2 separate regions of the Homo sapiens genome follow, and region 1 is linked to region 2. Evidence: promoter capture Hi-C in human tissues and cell types (Jung and others, 2019). All regions are on one chromosome and are shown on one strand. Each heading gives the region's core, a stretch centred on a gene start or on the middle of the fragment in contact. The rest is flanking DNA. Distances are from core to core; before and after follow the strand shown. Region 1 overlaps NFATC3 (nuclear factor of activated T cells 3). Region 2 holds the start of RANBP10 (RAN binding protein 10).

The links. Contacts are between HindIII fragments. The study calls those that stand out against the background at their distance.
Region 1: a fragment that was not itself captured here is called in contact with the fragment with the promoter of RANBP10 in region 2 in 1 of the 25 tissues and cell types used here (IMR-90 fibroblasts).

What each region holds. Positions count from the first base shown.
Region 1 is chr16:68,110,062-68,113,554 of GRCh38, forward strand. The region is part of intron 1 of NFATC3 (nuclear factor of activated T cells 3); the gene reads left to right. Among named protein-coding and RNA genes, the nearest start is that of NFATC3, 26 kb to the left of the region's middle. The HindIII fragment of the contact is 6,107 bases long and covers 1-3,493 here.
Region 2 is chr16:67,805,237-67,808,500 of GRCh38, forward strand. RANBP10 (RAN binding protein 10) reads right to left here and starts at 1,324. Exons shown (of 14, transcript NM_020850.3): 1 at 1,066-1,324; 2 at 192-303. The coding sequence starts at 1,300. TSNAXIP1 (translin associated factor X interacting protein 1) reads left to right here and starts at 1,653. Exons shown (of 16, transcript NM_001288990.3): 1 at 1,653-1,960. The coding sequence starts at 1,914. RefSeq lists enhancers at 447-1,067, 1,068-1,687, 1,393-1,622 and silencers at 1,043-1,262, 1,763-1,882. The HindIII fragment of the contact is 11,094 bases long and covers 1-3,264 here.

The sequences.
Region 1 (3,493 bases), core at 947-3,446, 310 kb after region 2:
TGATACGATCTTGGCTCACTGCAACCTCCACCTCCTGGGTTCAAGCAATTCTCCTGCTTCAGCCTCTTGAGTAGGTGGGATTATAGGCACCCACCACCACACTGGGCTAATTTTTGTATTTTTAGTAGAGACAGGGTTTTACCATGTTAGCCAGGCTGGTCTTGAGCTCCTGACCTCAAGTGATCTGCCTGCCTTGGCCTCCCAAAGTGCTAGGATTACAGGTGTGAGCCACCGTGCCTGGCCTGAATTTTTTTTTTTTTTTTTCGAGACGAAGTCTCGCTCTGTTGCCCAGGCTGGAGTACAGTGGCCCAATCTCGGCTCACTGTAAGCTCCGCCTCCCGGGTTCATGCCATTCTCCTGCCTCAGCCTCCTGAGTAGCTGGGACTACAGGTGCCCACCACCACACCCGGCTAATTTTTTTTGTATTTTTTTTTAGTAGAGACGGGGTTTCATCGTGTTAGCCAGGATGGTCTCGATCTCCTGACCTTGTGATCTGCCCGCCTCAGCCTCCCAAAGTGCTGGGATTATAGGCGTGAGCCACCGCGCCCAGCCTGATTTTTTTTTTTAAGGGTTTTTTTGTGTCTCTGTCTCCTTCAGTTCTGCTCTGATCTTGGTTATGTCTTGTCTTCTGCTAGATTTGGGGTTTGTTTACTCTTGGTTCTCTAGTCTTTTAGTTGTGATATTAGGATGTCGATTTGAGTTTTTTCTGGCTTTTTGATGTGGGCATTTAGTGCTATAAATTTCCCTCTTAACACTGCTTTAGCTATATCCCAGAGATTCTGGTACATTGTCTCTTTGTTCTCATTGGTTTCAAATAACTTCTTGATTTCTGCCTTAATTTCATTTTTTACCCAGAAGTCATTCAGGGGCAGGTTGTTCAATTTCCATGTAGTTGTGTGGGTTTGAGTGAGTTTCTTAATGTTGAGTTCTAATTTGATTGCGCTGTGGTCTGAGAGACAGTTATGATTTCATTTCTTTTGCATTTGCTGAGGAGTGTTTTACTTCCAAGTATGTGATCGAATCTAGAGTAAGTGCCATGTGGCACTGAGAAGAATGTATATTCTGTTTTTGGGTAAGTCTACTTGATCACAGCTGAACTCAAGTCCTGAATATCTTTGTTAATTTTTTGTCTCGATGATCTGTCTGATATTGACAGTGGGGTGTTAAGTCTCCCACTATTGTTGTGTGGGAGTCTAAGTCTCTTTGTAGGTTTCTAAAAACTTGTTTTATGAAACTGAGTGTGCCTGTATTGGGTGCATATATATTTAGGATAGTTAGCTCTTCTTGTTGAATTGAACCCTTTACCATGCTGTATGCCCTTCTTTGTCTTTTTTTGATCTTGTTGGTTTAAAATCTGTTTTGTCAGAAACTAGGATTGCAACCCCTGCTTTTTTCCTGCCTTCCATTTGCTTTGTAAATTTTCCTCCATCTCTTTATTTTGAGCCTGTGCATGTCTTTGCATGTTAGATGGGTCTCTTGAATACAGCACACCAATGGTTCTTGTCTTTTTAGCCAGCTAACCATTTTGTGTATTTTAATTGGGGTATTTAGTCCATTTACTTTTAAGGTTAATATTGTTATGTGTGAATTTGGTCCTGTCATCATAATGCTGGCTGGTTATTTTGCAGACGTGTTAATGTAGTTGCTTCATAGTGTCATTCGTCTGTGTACTTGAGTGTGTTTTTGTAGTGGCTGATAATGGTTTTTGCTTTCCATATTTAGTGCTTCCTTCAGGAATTCTTGTAAAGCAGACCTGGTGGTGCTGAATTCCCTCATTATTTGCTTGTCTGAAAAGGACTTTATTTCTCTTTCACTTACGAAGCTTAATTTGTCCGGATATGACATTTGGGTTGGAAATTCTTTTCTAAGAATGTTGAATATTGGCATCCAATCTCTTCTGGCTTGTAGGGTTTCTGCTGAGAGGTCCACTGTTAGTTTGATGGGCTTACCTTTGTGGTGATCTGTCCTCTCTCCCTGCGCTTAACATTTTTTCCTTCATTTCAACCTTGGAGAATCTGATGATAATGTGTTTTGGGATTGATCTTCTCATGGAGTATCTTACTGGGTTTCTCTGAATTTCCTGAATTTGAATGGTGGCCTATCTTGCTAGGTTGGGGAAGTTCTCATGGATGATACCGTGAAGTATGTTTTCCGACTTGGATGCGATCTCCCCGTCTCTTTCAGGTACCCCAGTTGTAGGTTCAGTCTTTTTTTTTTTTTTTTTTTTTTTTTTTGAGATGGAGTCTTGCTGTGTTGCCCAGGCTGGAGTGCAGTGGCGTGATCTTGGCTTACTGCAACCTCCACCTCCTGGGTTCAAGCGATCCTTCTGCCTCAGCCGCCCGAGTAGCTGGGACTACAGGCACACACCACCACGCCTGGCTGATTTTTGTATTTTTAGTAGAGATGGGGTTTCACCATCTTGACCAGGCTGGTCTTGAACTCCTGGTCTCGTGATCCACCCGCCTCGGCCTCCCAAAGTGCTGGGATTATAGGCGTGAGCCACTGTGCCCAGCCAGGTTCATTCTTTTAAATAATCCCATAGTTCTTGGAGGTTTTGTTCATTTCTTTTCATTTTTTCTTTTTCGTTTTTTTTTTTTTTTTTTTTTTTGAGACGGAGTCTCGCTCTGTCGCCCAGGCCGGACTGCGGACTGCAGTGGCGCAATCTCGGCTCACTGCAAGCTCCGCTTCCTGGGTTCACGCCATTCTCCTGCCTCAGCCTCCCGACATTTTTTTTTTTTCTCTAACCTTGTTTGCCCGTCTTATTTTAGCAAGATAGTCTTCAAGCTCTGATATCCTTTCCTCTGCCTGGTCTGTTCAGCTGTTGATACTTGTGGTTGTATTGTGAAGCTCTCCTGTTGTGTTTTTCAGCTCAATCAGGTCATTTATGTTCCTCTGTATACTAGCCATTCTGGTTAACAGCTCCTGTAATGTTTTATCATGGTTTTTCGCTTCTTTGCCTTGGGTTAAAACATACTCCTTTAGCTCAGCGAAGTTTGTTATTACCTACCTTTTGAAGCCTACTTCTGTCAATTCATTCTTCTCTGCCTCAGCCCAGTTCTCTGCCCTTGATGGAGAAGTGTTGCAATCATTTAGAGAAGAGACACTCTGGCTCTTTGAGATTTCAGCGTTCTTGCATTGATTCTTTCTCATCTTTGTGGATTTATCTGCCTTTGATCTTTGAGGCTGCTGACCTTTGGATAGGGTTTTTGTGGGATCTTTTGTGTTGATGTTGTTGTTGTTGCTTTCTGTTTGTTTTTCTTTTAATAGTAAGGCCCCTCTTCCATAGGGTAGGGCTGCTGCAGTTTACTAGGGGACCACTCCTGACCTAATTCATCTACCCCCTCCTGCACCTGGAGGTATAAGCAGTGGAGGCTGCAGAACAGCAAAGATGGCTGCCTCCTCCTCTGGGAGCTTCATCCCAGAAGGCACGGAGCTGATGCTGGCTGGAACGCTCCTGTATCAGGTGCCTGGTGACCCCAGTTGGGAGGTCTCA
Region 2 (3,264 bases), core at 74-2,573:
CCAACACACCCACTGGCCATCAAGATCTGCTGCTTAGACCAGACCATGCCCACAGTCAGGAAATAATGGCAGCCCAGACCCATGCGGCTCCCCAGCTCACATCAGCAACAAGTGCCAGCCAAAGGACCTGAACTCTGACCACAGGGATCAGCTCCATGATCAGGGAAAGAGGGTGGTCATGAAGGGCTTACCCATCTCTTCCTTTGCTGACAATCTTCACTTCAAAGTAATAAATGCCACAGGCAGCAGGTATGGGGTGGGTGGCACGCACTGAGGCCGCATCTTTGTGATTTTTGCCATGACCTAACAGGAGAGGGCAAGTAAGAAATTTCAGCAGAAGGAAATGCAAATGGAAGCCTCATTTTTCTCTGCAACTCCTCCATGACAACTCCACTCCTCTGTGGCCAGAGGACGCACTTACACAGGCCGAGGAATCATTAGACAACTGAATAAACACTTAAACCTTCCACCTTTGCCTCACCTCCTCCTGAGAACAGCAGTCCTGCCTGAGACACTGCCCATACAAACAAAACAAGGGTAGAGGCAATGTGAGAGATACTCAAGTGCTGCTGGCAGCCTCTCTAGAATCCAGGCAGCCCACCTGGGAGGCCAGGGGAAGAAGGATGAGGCCGACCTGGAAGACACCCCCCAAACTCTAGCACGGAACCCCAGGCTCAGTCTAGGATGCCTGGCAGGTGGGGAAGCCCATGAGTCTCACGCTAATGGTAGGTATGTGACCACCCCTTTCTTCTAAGCAGTGGCGAAAGGTCCCGCTGCCGTTGGCGCCAGCCTAGGATAAGCACGGAGGCCCTGGAGTGGAAGGTCCGGCCCAGCACTGGGTTTGGACACCTGTTGCGGTTCTCTTGACGGCAGGTGTCTCAGGACAGAGAACAGGCAGTCAGCCCTCGGCCTGTTCAGCCTCACCACCCTGGACATCCTGAAAGGGCCAAGCCCTAACTTGGAGCACCTAGGCAGGGAAAGGGAGGTGATAGGGCGGGGGCCTGGCAGCAGAGCCACCCCACGGACGCTCTAGCCTTAATTCCCCCCAGCCTGACGGGCCGATACCTTTGTAGTGGACGCGGAGGTTGCCCTGGGAGAGACCAATGTAGTTGTATTTGTCCTTGGGGCTCCAGGAGCGCGGCAGCGGAGTCTCTTGCTGGTTGACCGCGGGATACAGGCGCTGCAAGCGCCGGCTCAGCTCCTGCTCCCCAGGGGACGGCAGCCCGCCCCCAGCGCCCCCGCCGGAGGAGTCCCCAGGCTGCGGGTTCCCAGCTCCCGGGTCTGCCGTCGCTGCCGCCATCTTGGAGGGAGCTACTATTGTGTCACTGGGGGCGGGGAGGAGCGGGACCAGATCCGCCCCGCTCAGCCAATGGCCCGTGAGCCTCCCTGGGCCGCAGGGAAACCGAGTCCGAGTCCGGCACCCCTCTTTGGACACTGACACGCCTTACCACATTTCGAACTCCATACCCCACAATGCAGAGCTCTCGAGAGGCGGAGCAACTCGGGCTGGTAGAGAATTCTGGGAGATGTAGTATAACCGTCCTCAGCCATAAGCCTGTCCCATCGAGACGTCGGGACACCGAAAACTACCATTCCCGCCGGCAAAGCGGCTCCGGCCTCTCAGCACACTTCCCTCCCCATGGCCTCTGTTCATCCCCCTGCCTCAGTTCTGGTACCTGGGGTCAAATCGGCTGTAGTGGTTGACTCTCAGGGCACCCGCTGCCGGGTCCCAGTCCACCTTTGCTACTTTGTCCTACTCCCAGCCCGCGGGCGCTAGGCTCGGGGGCGTGGCGCATCCCTGACTCCGCCCCCGCCGCGGGGGGGCCTCTGGGGCCTGGTCGCCATGGCGACCGGCTGTACGCTACCACAGCTTCCCAGGCCGCGGGTGCTGATTGCCCGCCTGCCCGTGGGTCATGGCCTGCCAGCAGTCGCGGTACCACAGCTTCTCGTCCGCGTCGAGGTAGGCGCTGGCAGGGATGAGGGCAGAGATGAGGGTTTGAGTACTTCTAGAGAGGGAAATGGCACTTGATCCGGACCTCTGCACCTCCTGCTGGCCTCTGACCATTGATCTAGGGCTCCAGCACCACAGAGTCAATGGTTAGAATCGGGCTGATTTAGCCCAGTGAAGACGTTACGTGCTAGCAAAACGGTAGGCGCACTTTATCATTACTAGTAACAACCAGCTTGTATTGAATGTACTATATGCCAAATGCTTTATATACCACATTTTTAAATATTTTATTTTTGAGACAAGATCTCGTTCTGTCGCCCAGGCTGGAGTGCAGTGGCACTACTACGGCTCACTGCAGCCTCGACCTCCCGGGCTCAAGCGATCCTTCTACCTCAGCCTCCCGAGTAGCTGGGACTACAGGCATGCGCCACTACGCTTGGCTAATTTTTGGGTGTTTCTTTGTTCGTTTGTTTTTTGTAGAGACGAGGTTTCACCACGTTGCCCAGGCTGGTTTCGAACTCCTAGACTCAAGCGACCCTCCCACTTCGACCTCTCAAACTGGGATTACAAGCGTGAACCCCCACACCCGGCCTACGTACCATATTTAATCCTCACAACAACTGTATAAAGTAGTAATATTACCATTGAACAAGTAAAGAAATACTTTAGAAGCCTGGAGAGATCATCCTCTGGGTAGCTTCTGCCTGTACTCAGGTGTATAGCCTCTGGGTACTGCAAAATATGACCAGCTCCATCAGCCTGGAGAGCCATACATACGGATTAAAACAAAAATTTTGGCTAAATCGTTTTCTAGTTTTGGGACTTCAGACAGGGCCCTTCAAGTTCCAGGCCTCAGCTTATATATCTCAAACATGGGAATGATACAGCCCACCCCACAAACATTGTTGGGAACATTTAGGCAGAATATGTGAAGCTCTTGACACAGCTCTTGTATGTAATAGGCACCCAGTAAGTGTTGAATGAATGTAGTGTCCCCCCTTCTACTCATTCCCAGTGGGGGAAAAAAAAAAAAACACCACCCAATCCCACCTAAACTCTTCAGGGTCTGCTGCCTTGACAGAGAAAAGCCTACAAAAGCCCCTAAGAGGCCAGGCACGGTGGCTCACGCCTATAATCCCAGCACTTTGGGAGGCCGAGGCGGGGGGATCACTAGGTCAGGAGATCGAGACCATCCTGGCTAACGTGGTGAAACCCGGTCTCTACAAAATACAAAAAATTAGCCAGGCATGGGGGTGGGCACCTGTAGTCCCAGCTACTCGGGAGGCTGAGGCAGGAGAATGGCATGAACCTGG